3 separate regions of the Homo sapiens genome follow, and all the other regions are linked to region 2. Evidence: promoter capture Hi-C in 16 types of primary human blood cells and fetal thymus (Javierre and others, 2016). All regions are on one chromosome and are shown on one strand. Each heading gives the region's core, a stretch centred on a gene start or on the middle of the fragment in contact. The rest is flanking DNA. Distances are from core to core; before and after follow the strand shown.

What was found. The method cuts DNA at HindIII sites, captures the fragments that hold promoters and counts their contacts. A CHiCAGO score of 5 or more calls a contact.
Region 1: a contact is called between the fragment with the promoter of MCEE here and the fragment with the promoter of GFPT1 in region 2, in 2 of 17 cell types (non-activated CD4 T cells and naive CD8 T cells). The highest score is 9.5, in non-activated CD4 T cells.
Region 3: a contact is called between the fragment with the promoter of PAIP2B here and the fragment with the promoter of GFPT1 in region 2, in 1 of 17 cell types (naive CD4 T cells). The highest score is 5.2, in naive CD4 T cells.

Annotation. Positions count from the first base shown.
Region 1 is chr2:71,128,236-71,132,462 of GRCh38, reverse strand. MCEE (methylmalonyl-CoA epimerase) reads left to right here and starts at 2,234. Exons shown (of 3, transcript NM_032601.4): 1 at 2,234-2,283. The coding sequence starts at 2,244. It overlaps MPHOSPH10 (M-phase phosphoprotein 10), which reads right to left and starts at 1,829. Exons shown (of 11, transcript NM_005791.3): 1 at 1,709-1,829. The coding sequence starts at 1,797. RefSeq lists enhancers at 1,632-1,681, 1,782-1,831, 2,153-3,011. The HindIII fragment of the contact is 1,939 bases long and covers 1,466-3,404 here.
Region 2 is chr2:69,385,412-69,389,823 of GRCh38, reverse strand. It overlaps GFPT1 (glutamine--fructose-6-phosphate transaminase 1), which reads left to right and starts at 2,597. Exons shown (of 20, transcript NM_001244710.2): 1 at 2,597-2,759. The coding sequence starts at 2,753. RefSeq lists silencers at 2,178-2,287, 2,348-3,017 and an enhancer at 2,246-2,805. The HindIII fragment of the contact is 6,543 bases long and covers 1-4,412 here.
Region 3 is chr2:71,225,478-71,230,009 of GRCh38, reverse strand. It overlaps PAIP2B (poly(A) binding protein interacting protein 2B), which reads left to right and starts at 2,907. Exons shown (of 4, transcript NM_020459.1): 1 at 2,907-3,082. RefSeq lists enhancers at 2,622-2,761, 2,977-3,477. The HindIII fragment of the contact is 3,788 bases long and covers 830-4,532 here.

The DNA.
Region 1 (4,227 bases), core at 985-3,484, 1.7 Mb before region 2:
TGTATTCCAGGCAGAAGAAATCCTCTAAGATGCAAATCCTCTAGAGGTGAGCTTGAGGAAACAAACAGGTGACCATGGCTAGAGTGTGAAGGAGGCAGAGGGTGAAGCTGGAGAGACTGATGGGAGCCAAATTATGCATGGTTCAGGAGTAAGAATTTGTCATTTAAAGTGTAAAGAGAAAACATTTTAAGCAGAGGGATGAAATGATGATTTACACGAAGGAAGGAGAAAGGGACGAGGGAGGAGGAGGAAAGTACAGTGATTAGAAGGTTGATGCAGCATTCCAGCGAAAGGATAATGGTGATTTAGACTGGAGTTAGAGCAGTGAATATGCTGAGTATAGTTTGGAGGTAGAACTGACAGGATTGCTAAAGAATTAGATATAGAATAGAGAAAAATGAAGACATTAAAGTAGCAGCCTAGTTTTATGTTTGAGTACCTGAAAAGACAGAAGTGCCATTTACTGAGATAGGGAAGGCTTGGGTGGTGGTGTCAGGCCTCTGAGCTGAAGCTCAGCCATTGTAACCCCTGTGACCTGCACATATATGTCCAGATGGCCTGCAGGAGCCAAGAAGTCTGGGGCAGCCGAAAAACCACAAAAGAAATAAAACAGCCAGTTCCTGCCTTAATTGATTAATCAACATTACAACATTCCTCCATTGTGACTTGTCCCTGCCCTACCTTAACTGATCAATCGACCTTGTGACATTCTTCTTCTGGACAATAAGTCTTATGATCTCCCCACCATGTACCTTGTGACCCCGTCCTCCTCTGCTAATAGATAACCACCTTTTACTGTAATTTTCCATTACCTACCCAACTCCTATAAAGCAACCCCTTCCCCATCACCATTAGTTGACTCTCTTTTCGGACTCAGCCCACTTGCACCCAAGTGAATAAACAGCCTTGTGGCTCACACAAAGCCTGTTTTAGTGGTCTCTTCACACAGACGCGCTTGACAGGTGTAGCATGGGAAAAGGACTTCAGGGGATGGCAGAGTATAGGTGGGTAGAAACAACAATTCTATTAAACAGACACAACAGCTCTATTTTGGACGCAGTGAATTTGAGATGCTTGACAGTACCAAAATTTTAAAAATCGTTAAAAGTTGTACAGTGTGGATATCCCAGTTGTGTGCTACGGAATTCAAACTAAGCTCAGTCTGTAGTTGCTGTGAGCTGGGAACTCAGGGAAAGGTTGGGGTTTGAAACATAAATGAGTAATAATTTCATAGATCACATTTTAAATTCTTCAACAAAATACATATAAAACGCTTGTGTTGGGAAGAGACATGGAAGTTCTATTTCTGAAGAAGCTTAGTCATGGGGGGTGGACAGACAAGTGACAAGTTCGTACTTTCAATAAAGTATGCTAAGCGCTAAGTGCTTTGAGAGCACATAGGAGGAAGGAGAAACCAACAGTCTGTGTGTAGAGGGATGGGGGCGTAAGAAGCCCAAGGGAAGCTTCTAGGTGTTAACAATTGAGGTTAGAGTGATTTCAGTAACACTCAACTGAGAGATCCATCTATACAAATTTTAACAGTTTTTAAAATTTTGATAGCCTAGGAAAGCATAAACTCTGAAATTTGGGGAAAAGCGATTTTACGTTTCCCCTTACCTTCCCCCAGCTCCACAATTTGCCGGAGGCCTGCAACCCGCGTCCACGTGAGACCCCGGTCGCACCCCGAGCCCGGGATCTGCGCACTTACGTGAGGAAGCACTCGGGCCGACCCGTGGCTTTGCCGACTTCCGTCAGACACCGCTCCAGGGTCCGTCGACGCCAGACCTGCGGCGCCATGGCTGTCAGCAACTCCCGACACAATGCAGCATGCAAGGGAAGGGAGCCGCCCGGAAACCGCGCGGCAAAGATGCGCCCAGCGCAACTTGGATTTCAGAGCCGAAAGTTCCGCGGCGCACAGGTTCCGGACTCGCCCTCAGCCAGAGCCAATGGCAGCGCGAGCGCTTTCGCAGGAGGGTGGGAAACAAAAATCTCCATGGTCAGCCCAAACGCCTTTCAACTCTCTCCAAACTTCGTTTTGTATTTTTCAGGGGCCCACAAAGGGTGACCCGTCCTGGCCTTACGTTTCTGTTTTAGCTAAAGTAGGCCCGTTGTAGCAGGAAAGCAGCGACCTTCGCCACGCCCCTGACCTTTCTGTCCCCGCCCCCTCTGCCTCCCGCCCCGCCCTCTGCCGCGCGTCTCTCAACCTCCGTGGCTAGTCTTGACGTGGCGGGTTGCTTTCCAAAATGGCGCGGGTGCTGAAGGCTGCAGCCGCGAATGCCGTAGGTGAATACCGGGCACCGGCGACCTTCGCCATGGGACAGGGAGCGTGGGAACGGCGGTCGGGGGCGGAGGAGGCCTCGGCGTGGCCAAAGCACCTTGATCTAATGTCCTCCCCCGGGGGCGCGTTCCACAGCAGCTGCTGTCACTTAGGCAGAGGGTGCCTTCCAGAAGCGCCACCGCTTAGTAGCGGGGATTGCCTTGTGCATGAGTCCCATTTCCATCCGAGAGCTGTGCGCCTTGGGCTCTGCACCTTCCAGTATGTGGGCGGGAGAGTCGAGGGAACTTGCCCGGCAGGTCAGGCAGGGCAGGGACAGAAGTAAATAGAAGCGGATCGGTAAGTTATTTTACCGCGCACCAATAAAGAGACTGGGGAGAAACCAGAAAGGAGAGCACGTTCCGTAAAAACAACAACTACTAGTCGGCCGAACTCCAAGCGTGACCAGCTTTCTGTTGGGAACACTCAAAGGTCAGTGGTGTAAAGAATACAAAAGGAGTGGTTTTTCCACGTGCACTAATATATTTATCGCGTACACAGATAAAAGCATGTGGATTTGGAAACTTTCTTGAGTTCTCTCCCCCTTCATTTTTTTTAAAATATGTACATAGAATCAGTTATGACAGAAATAACTGTAATAATTGTCACGTTTTCTGACTCACTTTCTCCTCTTTTTATCCTTTTTTTTTTTCTCTTCCTCCTTTTATGAGAGGGCAAGTATTTCCCTTAATCTGAGATTCCCTATTAGGAAGAAGGTGCCAAGTGGTAATGCCCCAGAGTTACTCCGGGACATTCGTGATAAATCCTTCTAGCACCAGAGCCCACATTCTTAACCGTAAGGCATACCTTCCTCTTAGGTGATACACAAGATAGGAACGTAAAACTATAAATAAATGAATATTTGGGAAAAGGCATTTTTATGTCTATTTTTAGAACTGCACACTTTAATGATTGACAGTTTGGGAAAAAGTATGACTTCCAACAGGTCATATACATACTGCAAGAACTCAATACAGATAAAGGTGCATGTTTGTTTTGTACTTACATACACATCTTGGCATAAAGGAAAAATGAAGACAGTGTATTCCAAAGATTGCCTTTGATTTGTCCTATTAAGATACTTGAAGCTTAATGTCTCCACTTGTGTGTGTGTGTGTGTGGTTGAATATACATAAAGTAAAATTTACCTTTTTTTTTTTTTTTGAGACAGAGTCTCACTCTGTCGCCCAGGCTGGAGTGCAGTGGCGTTAGCTCACTGCAACCTCTGCCTCCCAGGTTCAAGCCATTCTTCCGCCTCAGCCTCCCGAGTAGCTGGGATTACAGGCACCCGGCACCACGCCCGGCTAATTTTTTGCATTTTTAGTGGAGACGAGATTTCACCATGTTGGCCAGGCTGGTTTGGAACTCCTGGCCTCAGGTGATCTGCCCACCTCGTCTTCCCAAAGTGCTGGGATTACAGGCGTGAGCCCGTCTCTACTAAAAATACAAAAATTAGCCGGGCGTGGTAGCACACGCCTGTTATCCCGGGTACTCGGGAGGCTGAGGCAGGATAATCGCTTGAACCCGGGAGGCGGAGGTTGGCGTGAGCCAAGATCGCGCCACTGCACTCCAGCCTGGGCAACCAAAGCGAAACTCCGTCTCAGAAAAAAAAAAAAAATTGCTTTTTAAGACTGAATAATATTCCATTGTGTGTGTATACCACATTTTGTTTATCCATTCGTCTCTTGATAGACATTTGGGTTATCCCCACCTTTTGGCTATTGTAATACAGCTATGAACGTGGGTGTACAAATACTTCTGAATTCCCGCTTCTTTGGGGGTGTGTATACTCATAAGTGGAATTGCTGGATTACATGGTAATTCTATGTTATGGCCCCTCTTTTAAGGAACATAAAACTTCGCCGAAAAACAAAAGCACAGAAAAATCAGAGTGAACACGTAGAAAAGTTCTG
Region 2 (4,412 bases), core at 1,348-3,847:
TCACATAAGGGTTAATAAAAATGACTACAGCTATTTCAATTAAGGTTCTTCGTTGCGTTAGTAATGGCAACTGGAAGCTCTGATGGCCTTCAGCCATCAGATCCAATGGGACTGAATCTACGAACAGGGAAATGGACTTACATAAAGAGATGGTGAATGACACCCCCTTGCCATCATTACTTTTTTTGTTGTCGTTCAGAATGTTTTGATCAGGAGAGAAAATCCATTCCCTCATTTGTTTGAATTAGACCCAGATGTCCCCTTCCCTTCATAGATCATTTATTTTCTTCTCCTTCAGGCCTTATTCCCAAAGGTCCAGTTAAGGCGGAGCTCTGTATAAAGGGAGGTCAGGCACCCAAAGTGTGTATCTTAACTGGCGCATGGTTACAAAGAGTTCTTTGTTGTGTTGGGTTAGTGAGGTTCTTCAAGGCTGATTTGGGAAAATACTGTCCTTCAAAGTTTCTTCTCTTTTTTGTCAAATTATTTTTTTATTTACTTTTTTTTTAACTTTTTTTTTTTTTTCTGAGTTGGGGACTTTCCAGTCTTTACTGAAAACTTTTAAAAATTTGTATTTAGACAAATTCTAAAAGACCTGTAACACTAGTTTCTTCTTCTCAACTGATTCATAAATATCTTCCAAAATAGTTTGTTGAGTGGAGATGGATAAGACAAATTGATAGTCATTGTGGTGGAGTAGCAGGCAGAAGAAGAAAGCAAAGGGTTAAATAGATTACTATAGTTGGAGCATGAGAACTCTGGTAGTACTGCTGACATTTTCTTTGTGGCATTGACAGGTTTGCTGCCAGTGCACAAAGATGTTGCTTAAGCATTGGAACCATACCTTGGCTTTTAGGTAATACAACGGAGTTCTAACCAGAGCCTTAGATGAGGGTTCTGAGGCTAGATGTATATCCACAGTCTTTTGTTTCTTGAATTAAGAAATGTATTATTACCAAAAAGCTCACTGTTTTTTTTTTTTTTAAACTTTGCTCTGGGTGATCCAGGGACCTGTTTAAGGGATTGAAATATCAAAAGGGCTTTTAGGTGAGAAATACTCTGCTTAGTTAAATGTGACATTTTTCAGCTTCTCTGAGGCAAGTGAAAAAAGGCACTTTTCCCCGTAAGAAGAACTGAAAGCCTTATGCTCACTTAATCATATAACCAGCCATAGAAGGTTAATTCCGCTAAGAAAATAGGACTTTTTTTCACTCATTCCAAAATAAATTTGATCTTTTACTTTGTGCTGTGGTCTAAAAGTGTTGGGTATGTAAAATCTAGTTCTAGCTTCAAGAAACTTACAGCCCAGTGGGAAAATACAGAAAATCATAAAATATCAAAGAATATTTCTTTACAGTGAGTAGCTCAAAGAGTAAGAGGTTAATGCATGTCTCCAAGTCTGTCTAGGGGGGATAAAAAAGGCTTTCCTGAAGAGGTAGCATCTAAACAGAGACGTGGTGGGGATTCTATGCAGAGTAACCAAAGTGTGCAAAAGATTTGAGAATCTTGGCCCAGTTGAGGAACTACCTGTTGAGCCTGTTGGGAGTGTATAGGGCTGGAAGGACGGCTAAGACCAGACACATGAACAGCAGTCAGCAGGCTAAGACCAGACACATGAACAGCAGTCAGCACTCCAGGAATTCTGTGTGCCATGTACGTTTTTGATACTACTCTACTCTAGAGCCATTATAGAGTTCTGATTACTCCACATTTGACTAAAGATACCATTTAAGGCTGTTTAAAGCAAATGCCCAGGTAATAAATTCTCAGAAACATCATCCCTCTCTAATCAAGTCTCTCTTGTCAGACATGGCGCATTAATTCATAGAATGAATCGTTCGTAAGTCAAACGCGCGGCTGTTAAAGCTAGGGAATTCCTAGCCGTCTCAGGTGGGTCATGGGAGGAGGTGGGCCAGCAGTTTCTTACGTCCAGGCTCATAGTCGGATAGTTGAGCCTTACATTCCTCCTCTACCCCTCCACAATAAACTGAGGGTTATGGAGGCAACGGATGCGGAGGGCTTTTAGGGGCCAAGCATATTACACAAGGAATTGAATTGCTTATTACCAGAGAGGCTGACCTTTGGGGCTTTACAGTCAAGAATTTTGTTATCTCTCTCCTCCCACCTCAACCTAATTCTTTGCAATTTTTTTCAGCCTTATGTTCCCCAGGATTCCCTTTTCATACTTCCTGCTTTTTTCCTCCTCTTTCCTCGCTTCGTGCAGTGCTGGCGCCTGGGGCCTGGGGCTGCACGGGGCACGCACCCGGGCTATTGCTTTGCTAACAATTCCATCCTTCTCTTTCCGTCATTCCCTGCCAGGTGCTGAGTTTCTCCCTCCCTCTCGGCTCGGTCCCTCCCGCGGCTCGCCCCGGGGCGGGCGTCTCCAGGAACTCCAGGCGGACGCGGCCACGAGCCACTGCCACGTCGCCGCCGCCAGCAGTCCAGCGCCTGCGTGGGCTCGGGGGGCGGGGCAGCGCTGGGAGGCGGGACTTGCGCGTGAGCGGCGCGTGAGCGGTTCAATGGAGCCTACGGGCGGCGGCGCGCTGCGCGCCGAGGGGCGGGGCCCGGCGGCGGTTGCTGGCGGAGCCCGGGAGGCGGAGAAGGCTGTCGTTGCCTTGGCCGTCGCATCCCCGAGGGAGTCGTGTCGGCGCCACCCCGGCCCCCGAGCCCGCAGATTGCCCACCGAAGCTCGTGTGTGCACCCCCGATCCCGCCAGCCACTCGCCCCTGGCCTCGCGGGCCGTGTCTCCGGCATCATGTGTGGTAAGGGGGCCGGGAGCGGGGGGCGTGTTGCCGGGTGGCGCTGGGGTGCGGTGCGGGTGCCGCTAAGGCCCAAGGCGACGGGCGGAAGCGGGAGTGTGGAGGGTGCGAAGTCTGGGTGATGGGCAAGGGGCGCCCAGTGGTGGCTGCGGGGGCGGGGGCCGGCATCCACGGGCGGGAGAGGGGGTGGCGGCCGGGAGAAAGGCACCTGAGAGGAAGGCGGGCCCCCTTTGCCGGGGGCTAGCGGGCGCCTTGGCGCGGAGAAGGAACCGAAAGGGGAGAGAAACGCCTTTATTGAAAAAGGAGGAGAGAGCTGAGGGAATTGAGGTGTGGAGGGGGTTGCCTTCAAAAGGGCCCACCAGGTGAGTGAGGAAACCTGTGGAACCTCGGGCGAGGTCTCTTGAACTTACCTTGCATTTTTCTAAAAATCTTTAAAAAAATATTTTACTTGTTTCTGGGGAGGCCCAATAGAAAACAGACCCTAGCTAGAGCCACGGTAGTGCCATTAAACGTGATACTTCCTGCCATCCCTTGTCTCAACAGAAACCATTGCTAATCAATAACTTGGTTCATGGGCTTAGACCTGATCCTCTGGTGGAAGAGGCCTTCAAATGTCTGTGGCGATAGGTTATACATAATTTATCATTTGCGTGTGCACCCATTAAAAATGCCAGCTCTGAAAAATATCAGTTATACCTTGGATGTATACCCCTTTAGAATACCAACTATGAAAAATATCATTTATCCCTTGCATGTGCATCCATTAAAAATACTAGCTATGGAAAGTTGAGCAAATATCTTTCCTAGAGCCTTAAAAAATTAAGGTTAGGCCCTTTTATTCCATGTTTTGAGAGTCGTTTATTATGACCTAAGTGTTAGTGAAAGAGACTTTGAGAATCGTGTCTGACATGACTGATATCTTCTAAAATTGGTGTTAATTTGGCTATTGCCAGTAAAAATAATTGTATTCTTACCTTTCTTATTGAAATTTACAACCGACTTTATCCCTGGAAGAAAGTACACTTTTTTTTTTTTTTTTTAAAGGGAAGTACCATTGTAAGAGAATTGAAAACTCTCTGGGAGACTTCTTATTTGCAGCCTTTTACACGAAGGAACTGAACAGGAGGTGGATTGTACTCGTTAGTGTATATATTTCCTGTATTTAACTTTATGCTCATTTCAGCTTCTGAAAATGAGGAGCAGGTTTAAATTTAGAGTAGATTAAAAAAAAACCCACATAAAAACAGAAACACCTATAAATAGCTTACTGAAATTATTAGAGTAGAGCTGACTTCAGAATCAGACTTTTGCAGTGTCTACTTAGTAGAATGGTTTTGCATTTAGTTTGGAGCTGTGAAGTAGTGAATTTGCAAACTGGTCAATCTCCAGTGTGCTTCATTTGGTAGTTAACTGTTCCTGAATGATGAGGGGTGTGCCTCATCAAGTACTCAACATTCTGGTTGCAGGTCATTTCATCATGTTCCAAGAAAAAAACGTAGTCAAAGTACTTACTGAAAAAAAAATAAATAAATAAATAAATCAGCGCTGGGCGTGGTGGCTCCCGCCTATAATCTCAGCACTTTGGGAGGCCGAGGCAGGTGGATCACCTGAGCTCAGGAGTTCAAGACTAGCCTGGCCAACGTGGTGAAACTCCAT
Region 3 (4,532 bases), core at 1,658-4,157, 1.8 Mb before region 2:
TACTTACTGTAACTGAACTGTACACTTAAAATAGTTAAGATGGTAAATTTTATATATATTTTACCACAATTAAATTTTAAAAAATGAAATGATGTAATCTTCAAGGTTGAAGATTTATTGCCCTAATAGCAATAGGATGTGGGGAAGGGTGATGGGCTTCTCTTGCCTCCCTCCCTCTCATTGACATCATCTCCTACAACTTTATGACTGGTTTTTGTCTCATATCTGTCCCTGCCCACCACCACCAGATACCCACATTGCTACCTCATTCCTTCATTGTCTTTTGGCTTCCATAGTTTCTGATAAGAAATTTGCTGTAATTCTTATCTATTTTTTCCCCTCTGTATGTTTCCCAGCCCCTTCCTGCTCTTCACTTCTTCACATCTCTGTTCAATGGTCTTTCCTCAAACAGCTCTTAAACTAACCATTCTACTTAAAATGGCCATATTTTTTTTCTGCCTGCTTTTAAGACTTTTCTCTTTATCACTGGTAATAGCCAGCCATGAATTTATAATAGATGGCACCAGTGGTAGGAAGTGAGACGAGAGAAGTTCATCAACCCTTCCTTACATCCCATTGCTATCCTGGTAATAAAGGTTCATCCTCAAGGAGTATTTCTGACTGCTCAAGGACACCACGTGGACCAGAAGAGCCTGTTTTTCAAACCTATGAGATTGTGTAAACTTTCTCTCATCATACACCGGAAGGCCAATTCAGGGAAAGAAGCAGTGGAGGGTATGGGGATGCTATCCTAGAGAGAGATTTTTTTTTTTCTAAAAGACACATGTTTCTTGCAGGCGTCATTTAAATTATGTAATCAAATAAAGCTTTAAACCAGAGTTGGCAGCCCTAAATGGATGTACACCTAATACACAACTTCAAAATACATGGAGCAATGTGAATAGTGATCCTGGAGTTGTGCACTGTAGTGGCTCTGCTTATTAGCCCCTTCCCACTCTTCACTTCTTCACATTATTCACATCTCTGTTCAGTGCTGTTTCCTCAAACAGCTCTTAAACTAACCATCCTACTTAAAATAGCCATTTCCCCAACCATCCCATGACTCTGCTTTATTTTCCTTTGTAGCATTTATTCACAACATACCATTTTATTATTTATTGGTTACTTTTCTGTTGTCAGTCTCCTTCACTACAGTATAAACACCATGGGTGCATCTTCACTGTCTTATTCATATCATATACCCAGTTCCATGATCAGAGCCTAGAACATTCATAGTAGATGCTAAATAATACTTGTTGAATGAATTTATTTATTTACTTATATCATTTAATATGAAGTATGTATTAGTCCATTCTCACATTGCTATAAAGAACTACCTGAGACTGAGTAATTTATAAAGAAAAGAGGTTTAATTGACTCACCGTTCCTCAGGCTGTACAGGAGGCATGGCTGGTGAGGCCTCAGGAAACTTACAATCAGGGCAAAGGGGAAGCAAGCACGTTTTCACATGGTAGCAAGAGGGAGAGAGAGCTAAGGGGGAAGGACACACACTTTTTTTACCATCAGACCTTGTGAGAACTCACTCACTATCACGAGAACAGCAAGGGGGAAATCTGCCCCCATGATCCAATCGCCTCCCACCAAGTCCCTCCCCCAACATTGGGAATTATAATTCAAAATGAGATTTGGGTGGGGACACAGAGCCAAACCATATCAAAGTATACAGCTAATATTTATAATTGTTATTTGAGTTTATCTTTTTCATTTTTATATTTTTTCCATTCATTCTGCAATTCCCTAACTTTGTGTCATGTATACAGTCAGCTTGAGAGGTGGGGGGGAGAGAAAAATGTATAAAGTAAGAGCTCCACAAAGAAATCCCTACTTCCTGTGGAATACAATTCGAAGTCCTTTGCAAGCAGATTGGACATTCTAAATCCAAGGGAGGCAATAAAGTTTTATTTTAATTTGTATTTATTGATGTATTTTTTTTTGAGTCGCAACCTCACTCTATTGCCCAGATTGGAGTGCAGTGGTGCGATCTTGGCTCACTGCAACCTCTGCCTCCCGGGTTCAAGTGATTCTCCTGCCTCAGCCTCCCGAGTAGCTGGGACTACAGGAGCCCGCCACCACGCCCAGCTAATTTTTGCATTTTTAGTAGAGACGGGGTTTCACCATACTGGCGAGGCTGGTCTAGAACTCCTGACCTTGTGATCCGCCCGTCTCGGCCTCCCAGAGTGGTGGGATTACAGGCGTGAGCCACCGCGCCCGGCCAAGTTTTATTTTTTTAAAGCACTCAAGAAGTTAGGTTTGTTTCTAGAAACGTGGAAGCATCCGTCTGCTTCCTTCCAGCGTCCCTTTGCTTCCTTCCAGCCTCCCAAGGAGCCCAATTCCTTAATTTTCCCTACAGAGAATAGCACCAGGTCCAAAGCAGCCTGAATCAAAGCTCCTCCTTTGGTAATTGACAGCTGAGGGAAATCCTACTGAGGCCCACCCCCACCCTCCTCCTTGCTAGGCTGACAGGCAAAACTCGGTGGCAGTGGCTTCCAGCTCAGCCAATAGACGAAGCGGGAGCAAGAGCCTGTGTAAACAAACCCAGAGTGCGGCGCCTTGGTCTCCTCCCCCACGAGTGGGCCGGGCGCATCCTTGGCCCAATGCCTATCCCAGGCTAGCGTAGCGTCCTTTCAGCCAATCAGAGCCGGCATCTCCCTCAAGGAGGTGTTCCACCACAGGAAAAAAAAAATGAAGGAAGAGAAAAGACAGACATTAAAACCAATCAGAAGCTGAAACTTCTGAGGGAGTGGGCGGGCACTGCTTCACATTTAGACCAATAAAAACCACATATGCCATTCTAGGTGACCGAACGGCATCTTCTTTGGCCCAATAGACGAATGGGGCGGTGCCCGGCAACCAATGGCTTGGGTTCGGGGGCGGGGCGAGGAGGCAGTGTGCAGTAAGAGATAACCTGGCAAGTGGTAGTGGCGCTTCTCGGGTGCTGTGCTTCACGTTTTGGTACTAAAGGCCGAGACTGTTGTGGCGACGGCGACCTCTACGGCAACGGCTTAAGCTCTCGGAGGAGTGGCAGAGTACGATCTGAAGGAGGGGCTTCTGGTTAGCCCAGGTGGGCTCGGGTGCCCGGGCTGCTGGGGAAAGGACTCGAGGGAAACGCCGTTCTCCCGGCTCTGGGGGCGCCCTGCGCCTCCCTTTCTGCCGCCGTCGGGGCTGTGAAGGGCGGCACGCGCCTGCCCGAGCTCCTGTAGGGAGGGAAAGCGCGCGGGGTCCCACGTCGCGGCCATCGGCGAAAAGGGGCGTCCGCTGGGGTCAGCCCCTGCCCCTCGGGAGCAATAGGGGGTTTTCGTCCCTTTCCCCCCCGCACAGGTGCTCTGTTTCCCCCCGACTCCCACCCAAGTTCCTGACTCCCCTCAGCGTCCTCCTAACACTCGAACCGAATTCTTGGCCTGAGTCCCATTTCTACCCAGGTGCAACAATGCTAGGCAAATTGACCCGCGCGGCATCCCCCGCCCCTCTCCCCGGGCTGGAGCGGGAGGGATTGCGCGTCGTGCCCTTCCCCTATTCGCGGCCCCTGCGCGTCCTCTGCCTTTTTATACTTGCTCCATCTCCCCCTTGACTCCAGCCCTCATTCTTCATGCCTCATTTGCCTGGGAGACGTTCGCCACTTCTCTTGTGCCTTGCGGTCCGTGAGTGAGCCCATCACCCCCTACCAACCCCTAAATTCCATTCTCATCTCTCCAGAAAACTAACATTTTCCACTTGCCTCTTCCAGGCAGCTGGAAGGTGAACTGAGAGAGGCAGAATACGCAGAACAGGGAGTTTGGCAAGGTTGGGAACTTTAATGTTTTGTTCCTGGTAGACTGTTTTTGCCTTCAAATGGCATTTGACCATTATACCCGCTCTAGAATCTTTGTCCTAATGCAGTTCTTTTGGTGGTAATTGCTGAAAATGCAGTTGAAAAGGGCTAACTAGAAGCAAGGGATTTAAATTTTGTTACTATTATTTTCAGTAAATTGAATTGGATTATACTTTAAACAGCTTAACTGGGGTTTCTGGGAGTTTGTAGTGTAAGGGCCTGGCTACCCTACTTTGTCATAAAATATAGAACATACTTAGTTGTACAGCACAGTGTGATTCGATCACACCCAACCTATGAAGGGATAATAACAGCATTGAATCTGTCCAAAAACAACATTCCCTGTTCCCTTTTCACCTTCATAGTATATTCGTTTGGTTTCTAGTAATGTCGGTTCTAGCCATATGTTTTTTGATAACAGTACAAACTATGCTGTGCCTAAGTAAAATTATGCCAACAATTTTATGGGGAAAAGCTAATGCACTGCTCTTAGCTTTGATTAAGATTTTAGACGTTTGAAAATATAAATTCAGATATTGGACAGTGAGGGTTTTATTTTGAAGGTTGGAGGAGATTGAAGTGTTGGGGTAAGACTGATAGGCTCCTCTGGCTACTTGTATATCGGGGTGGGGAGAATATACAGGTTTACAAAATCTTGTAAATTCTCACAGTGCTTAGTTTCCTGACTTTTCAAAAATTGGAA